Linked DNA regions of Homo sapiens: region 2 is linked to region 1. Evidence: promoter capture Hi-C in human tissues and cell types (Jung and others, 2019). All regions are on one chromosome and are shown on one strand. The core of a region is centred on a gene start or on the middle of the fragment in contact, and the rest is flanking DNA. Distances in the headings are between cores, read along the strand shown. Region 1 holds the start of SFRP2 (secreted frizzled related protein 2). Region 2 overlaps LOC101927947 (a long non-coding RNA gene).

Evidence for each region. The method cuts DNA at HindIII sites, captures the fragments that hold promoters and counts their contacts. A contact is called where the count stands out against the background at its distance.
Region 2: a contact is called between a fragment that was not itself captured here and the fragment with the promoter of SFRP2 in region 1, in 1 of the 25 tissues and cell types used here (small bowel).

The regions. Positions count from the first base shown.
Region 1 is chr4:153,786,016-153,792,023 of GRCh38, forward strand. It overlaps SFRP2 (secreted frizzled related protein 2), which reads right to left and starts at 3,068. Exons shown (of 3, transcript NM_003013.3): 1 at 2,319-3,068. The coding sequence starts at 2,820. RefSeq lists enhancers at 3,212-3,381, 3,296-3,997, 3,998-4,699, 4,961-5,130. The HindIII fragment of the contact is 9,313 bases long and covers 1-6,008 here.
Region 2 is chr4:153,835,564-153,841,571 of GRCh38, forward strand. It overlaps LOC101927947 (a long non-coding RNA gene), which reads left to right. Exons shown (of 15, transcript XR_007058336.1): 2 at 4,594-4,764. Among named protein-coding and RNA genes, the nearest start is that of SFRP2, 49 kb to the left of the region's middle. The HindIII fragment of the contact is 5,457 bases long and covers 1,142-6,008 here.

The DNA.
Region 1 (6,008 bases), core at 1,818-4,317:
CAAAGGGACTTATCCAGACAAAAGTAGCAATTGTCCTATTTAACCTCAGCTTCTGCCTCCTCTATAAAAGCAGGAACACTCAATCCTAAGAAAGTTTTCCCATGCTTCCCAATTTTTTTGGGGGGGAGGGGTGGTGGGAGCAAAATGAGAATGCCTATATGTTGTTGTGTTTAATAAATTATGACTCTCAAAAGGGAGTTGTGGGCAGAGTATACAAGTGTATGTAGTTATAGTTAACTGAGACAGGGTGCAGCTTTTCAGCTCATCCTCCCAACCTCTGGGAAATTCAGTCTGAAAAAGTTATTCCCAAGGCCTTTTGAAGGAGAAAGCACCCAAAGAACCAAAGATACTTGAGGAATTTGGGAAAACTGGTAACTAGAAAATATAGACAAAAGATTGTCTTTCTCAGCCACAGGACACCAGTGTAGTTGGCTCTACTCGGCAGAGCTCTGTATCTCAGGGGGGCCAAGTCTGGACTGGGAGGGGTGACTGGCTAGCGTTCCACATGTGGGCTGTTTCCACCTTGAAAACACATCTCACTAATTACAACAGCCTGCTCTAAGTGGTTCTGTGTCACCTTGTGCCTCTGCCAAGATTGTGCTTGAGTTAGGCAGCATTCATTTCATTGTTATCTGCAAGCTCCCTGGTACAGGTTCTTCTTGCCCTTCTGTGCCTGTTTCAAACTCTCAAAACAAACAAATAAATAAACCTGTTTCTGAAGCTAATCAAAGACGAAGCAAAAATGGTTTAGTGGTCTGATCAAACTTAGGGATTGTATACTAGCACAATTATCAGAAGACCTGCTAAAAGCTCTTCTAAGAGTTTGATTTCTTGGGAGAAGTAAAAAAAAAAAAAAAAGAACAATTATATTGCCCTTCTCTCATTTATAAATGTGTTAATTATGTCTTTAAAATTTAGGTGAAATGAGATTTTCACTAATGTGAAATTTAATGTTCATAGAAAACTATGTGACTTAATAGAAGCGTTATTTATCAAATTAGAAAAATCACAAAGCTGGAATTTTGAAGAACATAAACTTTTATTTTGAAGGAGAAAAGTGGCTTTTTGGAGAAATGTAAGATGCGTAATGTTGCTGCTGATAGTGGGAAGAAATAAAAGCAACATACATAAAACTGCCCTTAAGTCCCCTCACCCAAACAAAATCAAACATTTCCAATTAGGAGCTCTCAGGATGTATATAAAATATTACTAACCTGTATTGGTTGGTCTATGGTACATGTTGGACAAATGTTTGAAAAATGCCAAACATTTGCAATAAATTAGAAATCTAACCAATAAGATGATTGCAAACTCATGGTCCCTGCCAGGAAAGATTGCTAAAGAACTTTGCATTTGCTTTAACTAATGATGTCTGTAGGAAAACTACTAGAGATTGAAAGGGAGAGGCTGCTGAAGCCCTGAAAGGGATTAGGAAGCTCCCTTTTCCAACCCAGGGGACCCAAATCAGCTCAGAGGCATTGTATATGTTTTCCTTTCAGAAAAAATATTGAGAGCCCATGAGGTTTTCATTGCTTTGATGGTTTTTGCACAGGAACTCTCCCTCCGTTTTCTAAAAACTTGGGAATCTCTTTTGCATGATTTTCTCCAGCTAATCAAAACCACTCCTAAGTTAAAAACTGATAGCAATAGAAAAGTGATTTCCAGAGATTCCCTTTATGCCCTCTTCCTCAAGTATCTGAGCAGTTACAACCAATGTTCAATTTTCCACACACTCCGTGCCAGTCCCGGTTTTATTTCCAAAATCTAAATTGACAAAGGACAAAAAGACCCTTAAAAGGTTATCTACTTGTGCATCCTGGTTTTCCTTTCTGTACAGGAAATGTTCCTGTGACTAGAATCCTGCCCAGTGGTAGGAAGGTGCAGAATGAGGCTGAGCGAGGGGCCTCTGGCCAGAATGCTCACCACAAACTCCTCCACCAAACACCACTTCCAACGCTCTGCGCAGCTCCAGTGCTAGCATCTTTAACAATAATCGTGTATCTATTTTTTTTTAAACCGCCGTTCAGTTCTTCGTTTTTTTAGTTTTGTTGTTTTTGTTTGTTTGTTTTATTTTTAAACTGCCCTTAAGTATAGCTGGTACAACTCGGGAGGAGAATGCGCGAGACTTGGGCGGCGTGGGAGGGGTGCCTCAAATTTGATACAGGCTTGTTGTGATGACAGACCAGGTCAGGCAGAACTTCTGCCCTTCCCGCTACTGGCACCCCAAGCAGGGATGCACTGGGATGCGTGGCAGGGGCGGGATCTCCTGGGAGCGTCTCAGCCCAGCAGGGAGTGGGGAAGCAAGAGGGAAGGCTTACCTTCCTCGGTGGCTGGCAGGAGGTGGTCGCTGCTAGCGAGGGGGATGCAAAGGTCGTTGTCCTGGGGGAAACGGTCGCACTCAAGCATGTCGGGCCAGGGGAAGCCGAAGGCGGACATGACCGGGGCGCAGCGGTCCTTCACCTGCACGCAGAGCGAGTGGCATGGCTGGATGGTCTCGTCTAGGTCATCGAGGCAGACGGGGGCGAAGAGCGAGCACAGGAACTTCTTGGTGTCCGGGTGGCACTGCTTCATGACCAGCGGGATCCAAGCGCCGGCCTGCTCCAGCACCTCCTTCATGGTCTCGTGGCCCAGCAGGTTGGGCAGCCGCATGTTCTGGTATTCGATGCCGTGGCACAGCTGCAGGTTGGCAGGGATGGGCTTGCAATTGCTGCGCTTGTAGGAGAAGTCGGGCTGGCCAAAGAGGAAGAGCCCGCGCGCCGAGCCCAGGCAGCAGTGCGAGGCGAGGAAGAGCAGCAGCAGCGAGCCAGGGCCCTGCAGCATCGTGGGCGCGCGACCCCGAGGGGGCAGAGGGAGCGGAGCCGGGGAAGGGCGAGGCGGCCGGAGTTCGAGCTTGTCCCGGGCCCGCTCTCTTCGCTGGGTGCGACTCGGGGCCCCGAAAAGCTGGCAGCCGGCGGCTGGGGCGCGGAGAAGCGGGACACCGGGAGGACAGCGCGGGCGAGGCGCTGCAAGCCCGCGCGCAGCTCCGGGGGGCTCCGACCCGGGGGAGCAGAATGAGCCGTTGCTGGGGCACAGCCAGAGTTTTCTTGGCCTTTTTTATGCAAATCTGGAGGGTGGGGGGAGCAAGGGAGGAGCCAATGAAGGGTAATCCGAGGAGGGCTGGTCACTACTTTCTGGGTCTGGTTTTGCGTTGAGAATGCCCCTCACGCGCTTGCTGGAAGGGAATTCTGGCTGCGCCCCCTCCCCTAGATGCCGCCGCTCGCCCGCCCTAGGATTTCTTTAAACAACAAACAGAGAAGCCTGGCCGCTGCGCCCCCACAGTGAGCGAGCAGGGCGCGGGCTGCGGGAGTGGGGGGCACGCAGGGCACCCCGCGAGCGGCCTCGCGACCAGGTACTGGCGGGAACGCGCCTAGCCCCGCGTGCCGCCGGGGCCCGGGCTTGTTTTGCCCCAGTCCGAAGTTTCTGCTGGGTTGCCAGGCATGAGTGGGAGAGGGTGTGTGTGTGTGTGTGTGTGTGTGTGTGTGTGTGTGTGTGTGTGTTGGGGGGCTGCGTCCCTGGTAGCCGCGTGTGCCCTGTGATGGAGCCCGGGACCTGCCCGCCCGAGGCCGCCTCGGCGAACTTCGTTTTCCCTCGAATCTCCAGCCACCGTTCAGCAGCCTGTCGGTGTGCTCCCCAATGCCGTAAAAAAATCAGAATTATAAATATATTCGTATGAGCAGAACTTTACATGGAAAACGAAATACTAATAAAATGGGCTTGTTATTCTGTTGGAGTGAGTGCCTAGGAAGGGTTTCGTCGTTGTAGAAACGCCCCTACAAGAGTCTCACCAGTCACACAGGACTGCCCACCATTTCCCCGTTTTGGAGAGATTTTTCCTTCTTAAATGAATGGCATGACTCAATACTCGAAGGCATCACGGGCTCTAACACACAGCCGCCCTTGCAGCTGTGCGCTCTGGAAAGCTGGAGTATGGGCCCCCAGGGCACTGTTTGTAAAGACTGGTGGCCGGCACAAAAGACGGGCACAAAAGATGGGCAGGCTGGGAGGGAGCGAGGTAGAGGAAGGAGTCCTGCCTAGAGATCCACGAGGGCTAGAATTAGCTCATTCATCCCCTACGTACCAGGGGGCACCATGCTGGGCGCTGGATGTGCAGAAATGAACAAACAGGCCGGCCTCTGCTCTCGTGGAGCCTGGGATCTAGTGTCTCTGACTGCAAACAGTAAGTTCTGGGTTGGGGGGTGGGCTCCTTTTGCCTAATTGTCCCTAGTCTCCCTATGGGGACAGGAGGCCTTCGCTCTCCTCAGCCGCTGTCTCCGGGTGGCTGTGAAGATCCAAAGAGATAATCCCCGGAGGGCGAAGTTCTTTCATATGTAAGGTGGGCGCATTGTTATTACTTCCCGACCACTTAAGAGTCATTCACAGGCTCAGACCCCGGCTTCCTAATTTCCCTCCTTCCGGAAGATGCGTTGGCCTTGGCGGCTCCCAGGCCCAAGTTATCAGGCACACTTTGCGGTCCAGCTGCTTAGAGGAGCCGGGTAATGAATGAATGGGTGGCAAAAGCCCACTCAGTGTTATCTGCTGACCGTAAACACGCCAGGAAAATCGTCATCTGGAGAGAATGCACATTCTGAACTCCAAGAATCTGCGTCCCTAAGAGCCCAGCTTCCGGGTGCTCTGCTGGGGAAGGGCCCGGGGTAGCTGCAAAAGGCCTCTCTTTCCCCAAATTGGTTCAGGGCCTTTTCGTCTCTAACGAAAGCACCAAGAGGCCTAAAAGCCCCCTTCCCAACATAAACTACTTTGCAATGAAACCACAAAGGAAACAGAAGCACACCAAAAGAAAGAGCTAATAAAGAGCGTGAGCTCTGAGAGATGCTACGACTTGGGCCTGGGAGTGGGATAAGGGCCCTCTCGCTTTCACGCCCCCCCAACCCCCCGCCGGCCCCGGCCAACCCCTAAATCCCCAACGCCCTCCGCTGGGGTCGCCTCCTCCCCGCAGAGCCCCTTGTTGGGAGTTCAAGGAGCCCGAAGCTGGTCTGGCTGGTTTGAGCCCCGCGCTGCCGCACGCCCGGAAGTGGCTGGCGGCCCCCGCGCTCCGCGCGCCGGCTGCATTGTTTTGGGAGCCCTCGCTGCCCGGCTTGCCGCCAGGAGGTGCTGGGAGTCGCGCCTGAGTCTCCATCCCTGCCGTGCGCAGTGTCCACCTCTGGCCAGCTTGTTTGCCCGGCCCGCGGCGTCCCCTGCGGCCCATCGCTGCTCCTCCCGGAACCCACGCCACTTAGTCTGGTCCCGACCCTGCACTCGCTGCTGCTGCCTTTCCCACCTCAAGTCGCTCTCCCCACTCCCTTCTGCTTTTGGGCTAAGACCGGTCCAATTGATCACTGGGGAACAGGGCAATAACCTCCCGCGGAGGCTGGGACGCGGGCACGGAGCTCTGCCCATATGAGCAGCGCAGGGATGGGACACTGGGTGCCCATCCCAGCGCGCCTCCCCAGACTGGTCCCTGGGATGCTCACACGTGGCGCGGCACCGCGGCGGCGCCTTCACGAACCCAGACTCTTCTCTGCTGCCAGTTGACCTCAGGTCCACAGGTCTCCTTCGATCCTTGCAATTGATCAAAACCCACCAAAGGCTTTTATTTGTACCAATGGACCGTCCATGTTTACCCCCTCCCTGCCCATTTAAGGCACGGAAAATCTATTCACCCAAGCCCAGGGTAAGTGATGGTGGATGCCCACTCCACCGGGCATCTTGCTTAAAGGGGGCTGCCCATAGGTCCCTGGAGAGGGGCTTGGTCCAGAACACACACAGAATGAACATCATCCCACCCCAATGCTGCAGGTCTACGGAAGAGCCTCGACCTCCCGTATCCTGGGTTTGGCTCTGCTTCTCTGCTTGAGTGTTTCCTGTGCTCAGGGCACTGAAGAAGCTTGAGGCACAAAGAAAGCCCCCAGCAATCTCTCCAGAACAATTTGGCTTCTTGTTTAAACCTGTGCTGGCTACAAGAGTTTCTGGAC
Region 2 (6,008 bases), core at 2,620-5,119, 50 kb after region 1:
CCTGCCTATTGTGAAGGCTTTGTCCCTTCCCCTGGACCATGTCATTTCCCCTACCTTTTGAAGGTAACTTTGATTTCTGCTTCATTAAGAAAATCTAACTCATCAGGCTTTTAGCTTCCTCATTCTTCTCTTTTTCATCTTTTCTAAGCTGTCCTTTTATTAATCCTACCTCCTCTCCTTCTGTTTTCAGGAAAAAGTGGATCTGTCCTTTTGTCTGGGGGCAATCCTACCTTCCTCCCCTTGGTTGCCTTTGATTTACCTTCTCAATGATTTCCTTCACTCTTCCCAGTGCCCTCTTCCTCTCTGGCATATAAAGCCTCTTCTATTGACTCCAATCCCTACACGTATGCATTCACGACACTACTTTATCTTGATTTCAGGTGATCCTAATACTCTTTCCAGCTGCCTGAGTATTTTCCTCTTTCCTCCTCTTGTAAACGTTTTGAACCAGATGACTCCACTTTTTGTCTCCGCTTCTTACCTCCCACCTTCAACTTCTTGTGGTCTTACTCTGACATCACATGCTGTGGATGCTGCACTCATTCTTCTGTGTGTTTGGTCTCCAATGACCTGTGATTGGCCATACACAGTTTTTTTTTTTTTTCTTGCCTTCATATGTGATTATTGTATGCAACATTTGCTATTGTAGATTATCCCATGCTCTTGGAATCTTTTTCTCATCGAGTCCCATAATACAGCCTGTCCTTGTCCCTTTCTGTGTTGGACTGTTCCCTGTGTCCTTCATAAGCCCCTTCAACCATATCCAGAGGTGCTTTCTTATCTTATGTCCCTCAGAGAATTCACTTAGGGCTTTCTCTAATGATCCACTATTATGACAACATTACACCTAAGTCTCTACTTCTACCTTGAAATACCCTGCTGTGCCAAACTCCTAATTTCAGACTTGTCACTGGACATTTCCAAATTGATGACATGACAGCAGCTGAGGCAAAATGTGTGTAAAATGGAATTCATCATCTGCCCTCTGAAGCCTGCTTCTTCCTCCTGAGTTCCCATTTCTGTTAATTATGTCACCAAGGGCTAAATCTTAGGGCCATCTTTGATCCCTTTCTCTCCTTGTCTCCTATCATCCAGTTAAGTCCTGTCACTTCCTCCATCACAGTGTGCCTTGGATGTGTCCTTTGCCCTCACACTGCCATGGTCCTGGTGCACTGCCTCTGACCTTGGCCTTCCTCATCTCTATCACTTGCTCCCTGACCTTCCTCTCTCCAGGCTCTCCTCTACCATCCATGCAGCACATTCTCTAGAAGAATTTCCCTGCATTTCCAGTTACAGAGTGACAGTTATTTTGTTCACCTTCTTTCCTGGCTCAGAAATTAGCAGTAGTTTCTTATTACTTCCGAAATCAGCTTCAAACGTAGCTGCCTTCAGACTCTCTGCCTCTGGGCCCTGCCGCACATTTCTAGCCTGTTCTCCTCCTTAATGTCCCACAAGATTCTGCTCCACTCAAACTCAAAATCCCTGAAATGCTCCTTGTTCTTTTTCACATCTTTTTTTTTGGTTTATGGCATTTCTTCCTCCTCTGACTCACTTTCTCTGTTCTCCATCCCCAACGCTTCAAAACTGCCTATTCTTCATAACCCAGTCCAAACGCTACTTAACTCAAGGGGCCAATTCAGGTGAGAGGAAGGAAGGAAGGAAGGAGATCCCTACAATGTCCTGACAGTTGTTCACTGACACTCTCAGCCATCCATGTACTGTGTGTCTCTCCATTGCTCTTGTAAGCAGTGCTTCCAACCTCAGCTGCACAATAGAATCACCTGGGAGCTTCTAAAAAGTACCAAAGCTCAGGCTCCACCCCAGACCAGTGAAATCAGAATATGTGGGGCCATGACCCAGTGATTCATATTTTTAAGGCTCATTGAGTGACTCCTCTGTGCAGCCAAGGATTAATGTCTACTACTATGTGAATTTTTGTAGATTATTTTTAATGGCTCTGCGTTTTTTTCCTTTTTTCCAACTTTGGTTCTTGTGGGATTCTTTGTTTTTTAGCCTCTGTGATGTCTAGCACTGTTGTTTGTTTGTTTGTTTTGTTTTGAGACGGAGTCTTGCTCTGTCGCCCAGGCTGGAGTGCAGTGGTGCGATCTTGACTTACTGCAACCTCCACCTCCCTGGTTCAAGCAATTCTCCTGCCTCAGCCTCCTGAGTAGCTGGGATTACAGGTGCACACCACTAGGCCTGGCTAATTTTTTTGTATTTTTAGTAGAGACGGGGGTTTCACCATGTTGGCCAGACTGGTCTTGAACTCCTGACCTCAGGCAATCCACCTGCCTCTGCCTCCCAAAGTGCTGAGATTACAGGCATGAGCCACCGCTCCCGGCCAGCACTGTTTTTTATACTCAGTGGAACTTCAAAGAAAAAAAGTGTTAAGATTTAAGAATGGAAAACAAATAAAAAGGGTTGATTTTTAGGGAAGGAATGCCAACTGGCTCAGTGGCTATCCCACACTGGAAATGTTAAGAGTCTCTTGTATGTTAAATAACCGACTTCAAGTATTTGGTGTAAACTATTTGTGTCCAAGCAGTTAATATGCGAATTAAGCATTTATTAACATTTGTCTCATGAAGCCTCACTTGCCCATGTAATAATATTAGTTTGGTGCAAAAGTTAATTGTGGTTTTTGCCTTTAAAAGTAATTGTATGTAGCAATTAATATAATGCTACATACAACTCAAATACCTTGGATGAGTACCTGTTCTACCTCTTGGGTTGTTCTCAAGATTAAACACACAAAACTTCTGGGAAAAAACAAAAGCTTTAAAAACCATGGTTAGATATTATTTTTAATGAAGCTGTATTTTTTTTTTAAAGAAATGAATCTTAAAGAGCTCCTATTCAATGCATTCTCCCTTTCAGGAGCACCATTGAATACCTTAAGTCAAAAGGAAAACTTGTCTTGTGGTGGGCATATCTGCTTCTCTCCCTATGCTATATTTCTGATATCAGTTTGTGGATGTTGCAGAGTTTATTTTAGTCTAGGGGATGGGAATGAATTTAAATTCATTTCTACCTCAGGTGAGGCAGCCCCTTTCAGAAAAAAATAGGAAATAAAGAAGGAAGACTGCTGAGAAAATTCTCTTTTCAACTTAGAAAAGCACAGAATGCCTCTTGGAGAGTGATTTAATGGCCTGGACTCTGTAGCTTATAGATTCATGTTCAAAATCTGGCTCAGTTGACCAGCTATGTTGATCTTGGACAAAGTGCTTGGCCTCGCTGTGCTTTGGTGTCCTCAGCTGTGCATAGAGAGTAACATTTAGGTCTCAATGTTGGGAGAATTGAGCCATAGGATATATGGAAGGTAGCTGACACTTAGTAGGACCTCACGGAGGTTCCCTTTTCCTTAAGGCACCATGGATATCAATGAGTCCTGTTTTTGTCGTGACCTTAGCAGGCTTCCTCTTAGTGTTTTTCAGGGCATGCATTTTACTGGTATGTTGGTAAACAGAAATATACAATTTCACTTTGGGTCTGAGAGGTTTTCATTATTTTTTGAACCACAAAATGATTTTCTTTCTTTCCTCTTCTGTAAATTCATTGAATGTTGGAATTCCTTTGCAGTACCTTTGCCATAAATTCTACTCACTACATATAATTTAAATCAAGCAGGTATAACATAATTGCCCTCATTAGGAGAGTGTAGGACGGTATACTAACTTTGCTTCCAAGGAATTCACATTACCATTTGAAAAAATTTCGAAACTGATTTTCCCAGTTGCAGAAGTTTCTGGAAACTTGGATTGAAGAGTCTGCATACTTTGGTGGGCTTCTAGTTAATGTATTGCGTTGAACATAGATTTCTTGAACGAGTCACAGTAGTCTCTTATAAATCACAAAGAAAAGTTCATCCTCATTCTAGTTACAAGTCCTACGCCATGAATCAAATCTTAGCAAAGACCAGCTTAGAAATCTTGAAAAAGGCCTGACATTTTGTTAAAATGACAGGCAACTAGATTTCTCCTGCCCTCCCTCCTCACATTTCCTTTCCTTGTTCAACAACAGTACAATTTGTGTAGTGGTATTTTCAGTCTTCTTTTTCTATACTGAAAGTAATTTTTTAAGCATGAAACTGGGTACTTTGTTGCCCCCATACAGAAAGACTTTACAGGTTTAGCTGGAATAGAGTTGAAGAGCACATAAAGTTGATGTCAAGGCCTACTTACATTGAAGTAAAATTAGATTTATGGATTGAAATGGGAAGCCTAATTTGTATGTGCCTCCTTCCTAAAAGCCAGCTATAATCTAGAGGGAAAACTATCTGAACCAGTCTGAGTGAACCCAACCCATTTCATCTTCTAAGACTGGTTTGTTCATTACTTAGGGGATAAAGGCAGAGACTAGCTCATGGGGATTAAGAATGACAGAGTGGCCCTCCGACACTAAGCTATAAATGTATTAGCATATTTTAGTACCTTGCCCAGATAGCCTGGGTCTTTCAAAAAAATTGTTTTTTAAAGAATGATAAGATACATTTTTCCTCCACCCCAATTTAAATTTTCTGAATTTCTATTCATGGATCAATATTTCCAATTCCTGGGTAACTCATCAATTTTTTTATTATTGTTTCTTTCCTAGCTTCTTCTGTTTCAGAGCTATGTTTCCCAGTGGGCTGCCACATCTTTGGGTTTCCAGTACTTGGAATTTTGCTTTCCAGTTGCAGAGCTAAGAAGCCAATTCACATTCCATCGTTGTCCCAAAGTCTTTTTCCTATTTTGAATGCCCCATCTTGTCTGGATTTATCAAGGGGTAAGAAGCATGTATTACTTTGGCCTGAAAAATTTCTTGCTGAGTCCCACTCCATTAGAAAACAATAATATTTGAAAGAAATCGGCCAGTCACAATTCCTAGGCCTGAACAGTTCAGACCATTTCAGAGAGAGTCTTTTTGTGATTGTTTCTCTTCACATAGTGACTGAAGCAATTCAGGCTTAAAACACACCCTGATCATTAGTTGTTATTACAGATGGTAGGACGAGCAATTATGCTGAACTGAATTTTTCCCATCTTATCTATTTCAGGTAAAAGAGTCAGTGTAGAGCATGAGCTCTTAGACGAGGTTTTCCAATGTTCCAAGGTTTTCCAACCCAGATGAAGTTTCTATCTGAGCTCCTGGCAAATCTTGAAGTTTTCCCTGTAATCCTGATAGGTTTCACCACAATTCTGATACATATTCCTTGGTTTAATTGTGTGCCATAGTCATAGAATTTTGGAAGCAGAAAGAAGCTTAAGGGTATCTAGTTAAATACCCTCCTCCGTATTCTACAGATGAGAACATGGAGTTTGAATGGGATCTTAGAGAAAAATGAACTGGGGTATTTTTTTGTTTACTTTTCCTCCCAAGGAAATAATCCTTATCTCAGTATTTTCTAAATTAGACCAGCCACATTTTTCTTGCCTTGACATTCTCATTTCCATTTGGACAGAGTAGGTTAGCCAAAATTTAGTGAAATGATAGACAATGATATTGCTATTTAATTCAGATTCTTTTCTTTCTTTCTTTTTTTTTTTTTGAGACGGAGTCTTGTTCTGTCGCCCAGGCCAGAGTGCAGTGGCGCGATCTTGGCTCACTGCAAGCTCTGCCTCCTGGGTTCATGCCATTCTCCTGCCTCAGCGTCCCGAGTAGCTGGGACTACAGGCGACCGCCACCACGGCTGGCTAATGTTTTGTATTTTTAGTAGAGACGGGGTTTCACCGTGTTAGCCAGGATGGTGTTGGCCTCCTGACCTCGTGATCTGCCCGCCTCGGCCTCCCAAAGTGCTGGGATTGCAGGCGAGAGCCACTGTGCCCGGCCTAATTCAGATTCTTTAGCACAAGAATTTATCCTAAGTAAAGGCAAAAGGTAACGTTATTGGCAGTATTCAGACTGCCCTTGACTAGTGCTGTCTATGTCACGTTCCTGATTTATTTCTTGAAAAGCAGTCATTTGGTGTAAATATGCCCAACCTCTCACCACTGAAAATGGCACCCCCATTTATTTTTGCTCCTTTTCTC